3 separate regions of the Homo sapiens genome follow, and regions 2 and 3 are each linked to region 1. The links are contacts of gene promoters, found by promoter capture Hi-C in human tissues and cell types (Jung and others, 2019). All regions are on one chromosome and are shown on one strand. Each heading gives the region's core, a stretch centred on a gene start or on the middle of the fragment in contact. The rest is flanking DNA. Distances are from core to core; before and after follow the strand shown.

Region 1 (4,195 bases), core at 934-3,433:
ATCTAAAAACTTATAATTTTGTTTATAAAATCAATCCCAGGGATTTCTGATCGGTCTACTTAAAACTCAAATGTTAACATATAGAGTCTCATAACTTGTTATATACTGTCAATAATTTGCATCCTTAAATATCAACTGTTTAGTGTAGCTTATAATGTGTTTCCAGAACATGGGAGTTAAGGTTCCTATAAAATATAGGTTGAACTACTCATAACGTTGTACACACCACCAACCTACACTTGCATTTGGATAAATATGCTCGGAATTTTGCCCACATTAAGGGAAGGGGTTAATACATGCTTCTCTTTCATATATTGAACCGTGACCACTAAGCCCACTAAATCCTTTTATTGCAAGTGGTAATGATCAAAGTCTCTCTACTTGTTTACTTCCAATTATTAACTGTAAATCTCTGGGAAAAAGATCATGCCATATCACTGTCAAGCCCAAGTGACTGCGTAAACATATGCAATCAACTTTTTAGTGCTCTTTTCTAAAGCATCCCTTTGCCAAATGACCTATGCTGACATTTAGCAAAACCTGTAAAAGATAGTGGACTGGAGTCATGATGCTGAGTGCATCCTTTAGTAGAAGTCGAGAGAAAAGTTGCAGTCTCCAAAAGGGGAAAAAAGAAAAAGGAGAAAAAGAAGTAGTGAGAAAGCAAGCCTCCAGCAAAGCTAACGTCCAGTCACCATCTTCACTCCACAAAAAGCTCCAAATTTGAAATGCCCACTTCCCAGGGAGCACCTCCCAAGCGATGTTCAGAGCACTTATCCAAGACTCCCAACACACACCACCTTGAAAACTTCAGCATTTTAAACACAAATGCAGGAGACCTTGGAAACAACTGGGAACCGCCATCTTACCAGCCATCCAATCTCAGACAAGTGTCCCCCCAACTTAAGTTAATAACATTTTCGTCGGGGCTCTCTCCAGCCTAACACCCACCTTGGCGGGATGGCCGCCCCCCACGCAACCCGTCCCTATAAAATGGGGGCGTTCTCTGGCTGCTGGAGCCCCTCCAGAGCCCTTTCTTCGGGAGAGGAGGGAAGCCACTTGACCCAAGCAGCTCCCGATTTCAGGAACCCGTCCCCGTTTCATCCAAATCTACCTCTCAACAAAGGGCGCTGCGGCCGGGAGAGCCGCCGAGGCTGGAAATACCAGTACTCCTCTCGGGGGCCATGTGCGTCGCGAGGGTGCGGAGGGGCGCCCGGGGGAGCGGGGAACTAAAACGTGGGGCCGCGCGCGGCGCGCCGGGGCTGAGCGGGCGGCGGCGGCTGGAGCGGCGCCGAGCCCTGCTGGCGGCGGCGGCGCGGCGCGGGCTGCGGGTCGGTCCCGGCGCCGCGGGAGTCGGCGGGCGGCGGCGGGCGCGCGCTCGCGGGCGCGGGGAGGGCGGCGCGCGGGGCCGGCAGGCGCGGGGCGGGCGGCGCGGGGCGCGGGGCCGGGCGCCCACGCTGTCAGCGCCCTCCCGGCGGCGCGGCCGGGGCGCGGGGGGGGCTCCCCTTCCACCCGCGGCCGCCCCGAGCCCCGCGCGGCCCCCGCCGGCCCCCAGCCCCGTCCCGGGGGCGCCTCGCCTCCTACGTACCCGGAAAGAGCAGCCGGCGCGAGGCGATCGAAGCGGGCGGAAAAGACAATGAAAGTTAAAAGTCGTTCAGCAGAAAATGAATGCGAGCCAAGCGGCCATCTTGAAGCGAGCTGCAGACGCCGCTGTCAATGGGCAACCAGCGCGGCCCCGAGCAGCCGCGGCCGCCACGCTCGTCTCATGCCGCCTCCGGCCGGCCTCCTCCTGCTCCGGCGCCTCGGCCTCCTCCGGCGCCTCGGCCTCCTCCTCCTCCGCCTCCGCCTCGACCTCCAACGCCTCCTCCTCCGGGGCCTCCTCCTCCTCCTCCTCGGCCGCCGCCGCCTCCTCCCGCTCCGCACTCGGGGGAGGGCGCGCGCGGAGGGGGCGCGATCGGTTTTATTCTGCGGGGCTGGGAGGTGCTGCTAAGCCGGAACGGGGCTCCCGCGCCCACATCCCCATTGTCTCGCCCCGATCTCTGCCTCTCATACTACGATTATTTCATAGTTGCTGTGGGGGAGGCGGGCGGGCGGGGGGCGCCGTGTGTGTGCGTGCGAGCGGGGGGAGGGGAGGAGGGGGAGGGGAGGGTGGAAAAAAATGCACCGCTGAAGGCAGAGTGGAAACTGACACCGGCTCCAAAATGGCTCGGAGTCCGCCCGCCCCCTCCCCCCGCCGCCCCCCCAGCGGGTCACGTGCTCCCCTCATTCCTTAAGGGCGGCCTGGGAATTAGTGTCGGTGTAGTCAGGCCCGTGGCCGCCCCCTCCCCTCCGCGCCGCGCGCCCGGCCCCCTCCCTCGCTCCGCGCCGCGGCGGCGGAGACATTTCTCCACAGCGCCACACGCGCCGCCCTGCTCCGCGCGGCCGCCGCTCCGGCCCCGCACGCCGCGCAGCCCACCCCGCCCCCCGTTCTTTCTTTCTCCCGGCCGCCCGCCTCCTCCCGGGGCGCATACGTCCCGCGGCCGCCGCCCCCCGGCCGGCCCCGCGGGCTGCGGCCCAGGCTCCGGCGCCGCGGCGCGGAACCTGCGCCCAAGTTGGGCTCGCGGAAACAACAGCGCCCGCCCCTGCCCGCCAGCCCGCGGCCGCGCCGGCCTCTTCCCCGCCCGCGGGCGGCCGAGGCGGGGCGCGCGCGGGCGACGGCTGGCTCCGGGCAGGGGCTCCGCGCCGGGCCGGGACCGGGCGGCCGAGGGTCGGGCTGTGGGCGAGCCCTCGGGCGCAGGTAACGGGCCGGGCAGCCGCCCGCGCCCGCCCCCGGAGCCCCGAAGCAGGGGTCTGCGACAAACCCAGGAGATCGCATCGTTTCCTCCGTGTTTAACTTTAATCCTGAGAAAAGGCTATCGTTAAAAGTTCACACTACTCCTATCTAGCTTCACACAAAGTAATAACACACGAACTCAGATCCAAACAAAATATCATCACTCTTTGTGGAAAACAACACCTTATTTATTCAGGGTGTAATACTGTCTACTTCCTTTCAGAAGACTTGAAAAAGATCAAAATAGGATAAATGGACAGTTACTACTAAACGATTCAAATACTTGGGCAGTATCTTTCCCTCTTAACCCTTTCACACGTTTTTAAAGTGTCAAAATTGATGAATGGTATAAATTCAAAAGGAAAATTCTTTTCTACTGAAAAGGACATCCAGCTCGCACAAACGGTGGTTCAGCTGAAGGCAAGGCGTTTCTGGTTTTCCTCTGCACTCGGGCGGATCGTTAACTTCCCCAAGTTACAACTGAGTTGCTCTTTCCAGGCTTTTCGAAGCATCTTTAAGTTTCCCCACCAAGTCCTAAAAGACGTGTATACAATACCACGTTTTTAGGATAAAACATGGAAAGAAGTATCCAAGCTCAAGAAAGATGCAAGAAAAAAAATCAGGACACACCTTCCAAACAAGTTTAAAATTCAACAAGATTTTAACTTTTGACAAACTACTATCGGGCAAAAAAAGCGTTTCCTCGGAAATACCTCATGTTCAAATCGGTTATTTGCCCTCACACTGAAACATGATTTCTAACCGGATCCTTAACCGCCCAGATACATCTGAATTTTCTCAAGTTATCTAACAAAGGTTATGCTGTATACACATTTTCTGAAAGTTGAAAGTTTGATTCATAGTTACATTAAAACGACTCTGCAGAAGATGCCTTTGAAAAATTCAATTTCACTTAAATTTCCAGTAATGAGCTTCATTTTTTAAAAACTATGAAATAAATTCGTTGTCATATCCACTAATAAATGTAGTTTTGAATTTTCCCAGTCTTAAATGGGCAATATAAACAGTTTTAGAATGTTATGTATACTTCCCCCTTTATAAAGTCATTTAAAAAGTTTCAAAATCCAATTTTGACAGTTTAATTCAATTTCTGAAAGCAAAGACATTTTCAAAGCCATGCTCTTAATTTTGTTTATCTTATTGGACCAAACTCATCATGAATAGAAGAAATTTACACTAAACACTACAGAAGTTTATTTCAATCAGCAAGAACAGCAAATACAGACCAATTCTCTATTAATAACATCTTAATTTCAAGTGAAGCCTATCTTAAAATACTACTTTTGATGCCCCTTTCCCATTAAATCCTTAACCAATCTTCATTATCTGCTGACAAATGGTTAGATTAATTTTCTTTTGAACTTC
Region 2 (3,792 bases), core at 230-2,729, 180 kb before region 1:
TTTTAAGAGGGAGAGAGGAAACAAGATGACTTGTGTTGGCATCAATATGTGTGAAAAGTGCCAAGGTACATAACTGATTATTGTGAGCTGCAGGGTTGCATGTGGTTTTGTTTTTTAGCAGCTTATCCCTGTTGACAGAAAGAAACTCCTGACAGATGAGCAGATAAATGTCACTGAAAAACACCACAAACTTCTGTCTCCCTTCAGCTCTCGCAGTAATGAATTGAAGCATCTGCATCCTTTGCCCTGAAGCCTGGGAACACTGGACACTGAATTCATTCATCTTCCCTCCCGGCTTCCCTCACTCCGCATCTTTTGTAACATCTATTTCCTAACAGTCTCCAGGCCCGGTGTTAAACTTCAAATCTGGGAAAAAACTGGATTGGCTTCTGGCACTGGAAACTTTTCTCCATGAAGCCTTTTTATATGGTTTTGGCAGGCACATATAATACCAGTGGAGAGAGAAATCCCGCTGGCGAGAGAAAATAAAAACTTTAACATAACTGTAATGGCCCTGAGTGGTGTTTTACATGTTATGCTTGCTCAAGATTTATGTTAAAGTCAACCTTGCAAAAGAGGCTTTTTAAAAAATCTATCAAGCTGCCAAAGTTTAAACAGCTCTTTCTTTACTATCCAATGACAGTAGATTTTAACAACTTAAATGACCTGGGACAAACGCATTTCTCAGTATTCAATTTCACCCTGTAGTCTTTCAGTTACTTCACCAATGTCTGAGAACTTTTGTCCCTCTCTCCTCTTTCTTCTTTTTCTATATTTCTCTCTCCAAAATGTGAGAGGGATATAAGTGAAATGAAACTAATTAATCCAAAGTCACTGAAGTTAATATTTTTTTAAAGAGATGGAGTCTCACTCTGTCATCCAGGTGACAGTGGTGTAATCATAGCTCACTGCAGCCTCAAACTCTTGGGTTCAAGCAATCCTCCTGCCTCAGCCTCCCAATGAAATTAATTTTTTAATTTATGTATCTTTTTAATTAGAGATAGGATCTTGCTCTATCACCCAGACTGGAGTACCGTGGAGTGATCAAAGCTCACTGCAGCCTCAAACTCCTGGGCTCAAATGATCCTCCTGCCTCAGCCTCCAGAGTAACTGGGACTATAGATGCACACCACGATACCTGGCTCATTTTTTTTATTTTTTGTAGAGATGGGATCTTGCTATGTTGCCCAGGCCAGTCTTGAACTCCTGGCCTCAAGTGATCCTCCCAGCTGGGCCTCCCAAAGAGCTGGGATTACAGGTGTGAGCCACTGCACCTGGCAGAAATTGATGTTTAATTTGATGATCACATTCAGAAGTATTCTTTCCTGGCCCCAGAGTTATTCCCAGACATCTCTGCCAGACCTGAACATTGTCACTGTTCACTCTGGCACCACTAACTGCCAGGTGGTTTCTTCCTGAGCTTGCTGGTTGTCACTGTTCCACACACATGCTTCCCCAGGTCAGCTCCCACAGCCAGGCCAGTGTGCCCCTAGGGGCAGGGTCTCTGCCCAAAAGCCTTTGGCACCCCCGGCTCACTCCATGGAACCTACTCCCCTACACAGGACTTCTTCCATGTGGAAAGAGGAAACACCTCTGCACATGTGTAACTAAGCAAAATGGAAACACCGTCTGCCTGTAAATAAGCAATACTGATGTCTCCCTGAGCTGGCTGATCAATTCCCCTGGCAGCTTATAGTTTTTCAATCACTGCCTCTGACAATTCCTGACAAAAAGATATTTCCACTCATGAGCTCCTTTGTGTGGCTTAAATATACATGGCTGAAATGAGGATTGTGTCTCTAATAAGAAGCCAGTCTAACAACACACCAGAAGTGTTTTCTTTTTTTTTCTTTCCTTTTTTCTTTTTCCTTTTAAACATATTCATCCTGTAGAGGCCACCTGCTTCCAAGAAGGAGCTGAGGCAGCGGAACCAGGTGGGCAGGTAATGAGTTTTCATGCTGATGTGATACCTCAGGTGCCCAGTAAGTGACAAGGGGCAAAACCTATGGGTGAAAATGAGAAGGGACAGAATTCAAAAACCACCTTCAAGGAGGAAGGAGGTTGGCCAGCTGTTTTCAATTCCAAGTCAAGACAGGAGAGAAAAATAGGCTGGGGCAGTGAAGTGGAGAGAGAGAAAGACTTTCTAGTCAACTCAAGTCCTGGTCTGAGGCTGCACCCCCGCCCTTGAGAACCTCACCAGGGCATTAACCAGTCCCCACCACAAGGACCAGACAGAGGCCCCTCTGGCCACAAGATTCTGTGTAGGGACTCTGGAGCCATGTATAGCCTATGAATCCTTTCAAGTTTATTCGAACTTATAGTGTTTTATATTGGCTCTAATAGTTTAAACGCAAAGGGCAATGCTGGGAATGACCATCAAAATTTTAAAACCTCAGTGCTGCCCCAGCCACAGCTGCAGGCTGTGTCCACTGTCTAAGCCTGCTGCAAAGCCCACCTGGCCTCTGTGGGGGTCTTTGCAGAATGTTCTGCACACAGGACCCTCAGGTAGGGTGTTTCTACTGTGAGATGTGCGGTGACTATTCCCTGGGAATATGACCAGATCTGAAAGGAAGTATGTGTCTTTTGAAGACAGATAAAAATGCAAAAGTTGGCCAGCCACAGTGGCTCACACCTGTAATCCCAGCACTTTGGGAGGCCAAGGTAGGAGGATTGCTTGAGGACAGGGGTTTGAGAATAACGTGGGCAACATAGCAAGATCCTGTTTCTAGGAAAATAAAAAAATTAGCCAGGCGTGGTAGCACATGCCTGTAGTCCAGCTGGGAGGCTGAGGCAGGAGGACAGCTTGAGCTGAGGCATTCTAAACTAGAGGGAGCCATGATCATGCCACTACACTCCAGCTGTGATCATTCTACTGCACTCCAGCCTGGGCAACAGAGCAGACCCTGTCTCAAAGAAAAAGAAAAAAAGGCAATGGTGTAGAAGGCACCACTTGTCTTTTCCATTGAAATGACCCACCTTCACCCCTCTCAACCCCCATGCCAAGTCCCAGGGGGCCTGTACCACTTCTACCAAAAGAAGCTGTTAACCACTAAGTAGAACTTTGCACAAATTATCCCCTCAAGGGCCCTCTGACCTGCATACATAGAGTAGTCTTGGATGGTCATATTCATAATTTTACAATATGCCCAGTGACAGTCATGGTTCCCAGGTACCTAGGAACTGCCAGATATCTAGTAAATTCTAAATCACTATGCCAATGTTCATTTTTCTTATCTGATGGATATCGAGTATGGTCAAATAAAACTAGACTTGCCACACAAAAGCTTTGCTCCATCGGTGGTGGGGCCAGGGTAGAGAGAAAGCCATCCAACCTGAGAAGCCTCATGGCAGCTGTGAGCATCCTGAGGAAACATTCTTGTAGAGTGATGAACAGGACAGCTGCTAAAGGTGTGACCCATTTCTGGGGGGTCTAGGGGCACAGATAGCTGACACTAGCTAGCCCAGATGTCTGAGACGGCTTCTGAGCTGGCTCAGGCTCCCTGCCCTTTCTCCCATTTAGTTATGGAAATCGTTTTCTAAAATATTGAGCTCATCATTAAAAATAAATAGGTGAATGGCTCTGCCCCCACCTGCCTCCCAGCCCCTGACCTGTAAGGCAGAATTCAGTGTCCTCCCTCAAACATTCTAGCGCCTCCCCCAGTTGGTCACAGGCCCCTCTAATAAATGTGCCGCAGTCCTCCAACAGGGACCCTCTGCTGTAACCATGCTCTCACCTCAACTAGTGATTAACATCACCTTTCAGTTCCATGAGCATGAACTCTGCCACCAGAA
Region 3 (4,199 bases), core at 79-2,578, 200 kb before region 1:
TTTAGATTTCACAGTTACAGAAATACAGCAATCAAAAGTGTGGACAGATATACATATAGATCAAAGAAATATAATACAGATTTCAGAAATGAACCCTTACATTTACGGTCAATTGATTTTTCATGAGGGTGCCAAGACAATTCAGTAGGTGAAAGAATAGTCTTTTCCACAAATGATGCTAGGACAACTACGTATCCACGTGCAAAAGAATGAAATAGGACCCCTACCTCACATCATACATGAAAAATTAATTCATAGTGCTTCAAAGACTTAAATGAAAAAACTAAAACTAAAATTCAGAAGAAAACATAGGCAGAGGCTATGGCTTGGATAAGTATAACGAAAAAGCAAGTGTTGGTGAAGATGTGGAAGAATTAGAACCTTCATATACTGCCTGTAAGTGTGTAAAATGGCACAGCTACTTTGGAAAACAGTCTGGGAGTTCCTTGAATGGTTAAATATAGGTTACCATATGACTTGGGAATTTTAGTCCTGGGAACATACCCTAGAGAAGGGCTGCATCCTTTCTGGAAGCCCTGGTGGAGAATTTGTTCTCTTGCCTTTTCCAGGTACAGATTGTCTGCATGGTTTGGATATTTGGTTTCATCCTTATCTTCAAAGCCAGCAATATAGCATCTTTCTCTGGCTCTGCTTCCATCATATGTCCTTGATTAAATTAGCTGCTGGACTATCTAGTTAGTATGTTTTTTCTAGTTTGCATGTCTCTGAAAGAAAGGCAGCAGCCCCAGTCAGGGGCTTACAGATGAAACTCCCATCTCCCTGGGACAGAGCATGAGGGAAGGGGTAGCTGTGAGCCCAGCATCAGCAGTCTTACAAGTTCCTGCCTGCTGGCTCTGAAGAGAGCAGGTCTCCCAGCACAGTACTCGAGTTCGGCTAACGGACAGACTGCCTCCTCAAGTGGGTCCCTGACCCCTATGCCTGCTGACTAGGAGAGACCTCCAAAAAGGGGTTGACAGATACCTCACACAGGAGAGCTCTGGCTGGCATCAGGCTGGTGCCCCTCTGGGACTAAGCTTCCAGAGGAAGGAGCAGGCAGTGACCTTTGCTGTTCTGCAGCCTCCAGTGGTTATACCCAGGTGAAGAGGGTCTGGAGTGAACCTCCAGCAAAATGCAGCAACTTGCAGAAGAGGGGCCTGACTTTTAGAAGAAACACTAACAGAAAGCAACAACATCAACAAAAGAGCCACACAAAAACCCCATCCAAAGGTGATCAGCCTCAAAGATCAAAGGTAGATAAATCCACGAAGGTGAGGAAAAATGAGCACATAAATGCTGAAAATTCCAAAAACAAGAATGCCTCTTCTCCTCCAAATGATCACAACTCCTCTCCAGTAAGGGCACAAATCTGGACAGAGAATGAGGTTGATAAACTGACAGAAGTAGGCTTCAAAAAGTGAGTAATAACAAACTCCTCTGAGCTAAAGGAACATGTTCTAACCTAATGCAAAGAAGCTAAGAACCTTGATAAAAGGTTACTGGAACTGCTAACTAGAATAATCAGTTTAGAGAAGAACACAAATGACCTGATGGAGCTGAAAAACACAGCACGAGAACTTCATGAAGCATACACAAGTATCAATAGCCGAATAAAGTGGAAGAAAATATATTGGAGATTGAAGATCAATTTACTGAAATAAGGCATGAAGACAAGATTAGAGAAAAAAGATTGAAAAGGAATGAACAAAGCCTCCAAGAAATATGGGACTATGTGAAAAGACCAAACCTACAATTGACTGGTGTATCACAAAGTGATGGGGAGAATGGAACCAAGTTGGAAAACAAATTTGAGGATATTACCCAGGAGAACTTCCCCAACATAGCAAGACAGGCCAACATTCAAATTCAGGAAATACAGAGAACACCACTAAGATAATCACAGAGAAAAGCAAGCCCAAGACACATGTTTATCAGATTTTCCAAGGTTGAAACAAAGGATAAATGTTAAGGGCAGCCAGAAAGTTCGGGTTACCTACAAAGGGAAGCCCATCACACTAACAGCAGATCTCTCTGCAGAAAGCTGGCAAGCCAGAAGAGGGTGGGGGCCAATATTCAACATTCTTAAAGAAAAGAATTTTCAACCCAGAATTTCATATCCAGCCAAACTGAGCTTCATAAGCAAAGGAAAAATAAAATCCTTTCCAGACAAGATAAGCAAATGCTGAGGGATTTTGTCACCACCATGCCTGCCTTACAAGAGCTCCTGAAGGAAGCACTGGGTATGGAAAGGAAAAACCAGTACCAGCAACTGCAAAAACATGCCAAATTGTAAAGACCATCCAAGCTATGAAGAAACTGCATCAACTAATGTACAAAAAACCAGCTAGCATCATGATGACAGGATCAAATTCAAACATAACAATATTAACTTTAAATGTAAATGAGCTAAATGCCCCAATTAAAAGACACAGACTGGCAAATTGAATAAAGAGTCAAGACCCATCAGTGTGCTGTATTCAGGAGACCCATCTCACATGCAAACATACACATAGGCTCAAAATAAAGGGATGGAGGAATATTTACCAAGCAAATGGAAAGAAAAACAAAACAAAACACAACAAAACAGGGATTGCAATCCTTATTTCTTATAAAATAAACCAACAAAGATCAAAAAAGACAAAGAAAGGCATTACATAATAGTAAAGGGATCAATGCAACAAAAGCTAACTATCATAAATATATATGCACCCAATACAGGAGCACCCAGATTCATAAAGCAAGTTCATAGAGACCTACAAAGAGACTTAGACTCCCACACAATAACAGTGGGAGATATTTACACCCCAATGTCAATATTAGATCAACAAGACAGAAAATTAACAAGGATATTCAGGACTTGAACTCAGCTCTGGACCAAGTGGACCTAACCTACATCTACAGAACTCTCCACCACAAATCAACAGAATATACATTCTTCTCAGAGCCACATAGCACTTATTCTAAAATCGACCACATAATTGGAAGTAAAACACTCCTCTGCAAATGCAAAAGAACAGAAATCATAACAAACTGTCTCTCAGGCCACAGTGCAACCAAATTAGAACTCAGGATTAAGAAACTCACTCAAAACCATACAACTACCTGGAAATTGAACAACCTGCTCCTGAATGACTACTGGGTAAATAACGAAATTAAGGCAGAAATAAAGAAGTTCTTTGAAACCAATGAGAACAAAGAGACAATGTACCAGAACCTCTGGAACACAGATAAAGCAGTGTTAAGAGGGAAATTTATAGCACTAAATGCCCACATCAGAAAGCTGGAAAGATCTAAAATTGACACCCTAACATCAAAATTAAAAGAACTAGAGAAGCAAGAGCAAACAAATTCAAAAGCTAGCAGAAGACAAGAAATAAGTAAGATCAGAACTGAAGGAGATAGAGACACAAAAAACCCTTCAAAAAAAGCAATGAATCCCAGAGCTGGTTTTTTGAAAAGATTAACAAAATAGACCACTAGGTAGACTCATAAAGAAGAAGAGAGAGAAGAATGAAATAGACACAATGAAAGTGATAAAGGGGATATCAACACCAATCCTACAGAAATACAAACCAACTTCAGGGAATACTATAAACACCTCTACGCAAATAAACTAGAAAATCTAGAAGAAATAGATAAATTCCTGGACACATATAGCCTCCCAAGACTAAACCAGGAAGAAGTCAAATCCCTGAATAGACCAATAACAGGTTCTGAAACTGAGGCAGTAATTAACAGCCTACCAACCAAAAAAAGCCCAGGACCAGATGGATTCACAGCCGAATTCCACCAGGGGTACAAAGAGGAGGTGGTACCATTCCTTCTGAAACTATTCCAAACAATAGAAAAAGAAGGACTCCTCCCTAACTCATTTTATGAGTCCAGCATCATCCTGATTCCAAAACCTGGCAGAGACACAACAAAAAAAGAAAATTTCAGGCCAATATCCCTGATGAACATCGACGCAAAAATCCTCGATAAAATACTGGCAAACCGAATCCAGCAGCACATCGAACACCTTATCTACCATGATCAAGTCAGCTTCATCCCCAGAATGCAAGGCTGGTTCAACATACACAAATCAATAAACACAATCCATCACATAAACAGAACCAATGACAAAAACCACATGATTATCTCAATAGATGCAGAAAAGGCCTCCAATAAAATTTAACATGCATTTATAACATGTAAGGAAGGGG

What was found. The method cuts DNA at HindIII sites, captures the fragments that hold promoters and counts their contacts. A contact is called where the count stands out against the background at its distance.
Region 2: a fragment that was not itself captured here is called in contact with the fragment with the promoter of BMI1 in region 1 in 1 of the 25 tissues and cell types used here (hippocampus).
Region 3: a contact is called between a fragment that was not itself captured here and the fragment with the promoter of BMI1 in region 1, in 1 of the 25 tissues and cell types used here (lymphoblastoid cells).

The regions. Positions count from the first base shown.
Region 1 is chr10:22,319,087-22,323,281 of GRCh38, reverse strand. BMI1 (BMI1 proto-oncogene, polycomb ring finger) reads right to left here and starts at 2,183. Exons shown (of 10, transcript NM_005180.9): 1 at 1,586-2,183. The region is part of intron 5 of COMMD3-BMI1 (COMMD3-BMI1 readthrough); the gene reads right to left. COMMD3 (COMM domain containing 3) reads right to left here. Exons shown (of 8, transcript NM_012071.4): 8 at 2,976-3,343. The coding sequence ends at 3,284. RefSeq lists silencers at 1,819-2,018, 2,209-2,378, 2,439-2,698. The HindIII fragment of the contact is 3,913 bases long and covers 1-3,105 here.
Region 2 is chr10:22,497,552-22,501,343 of GRCh38, reverse strand. No RefSeq gene overlaps it. Among named protein-coding and RNA genes, the nearest start is that of LINC03027, 62 kb to the right of the region's middle. The HindIII fragment of the contact is 8,823 bases long and covers 1-3,792 here.
Region 3 is chr10:22,522,740-22,526,938 of GRCh38, reverse strand. No RefSeq gene overlaps it. Among named protein-coding and RNA genes, the nearest start is that of LINC03027, 87 kb to the right of the region's middle. The HindIII fragment of the contact is 4,160 bases long and covers 1-3,408 here.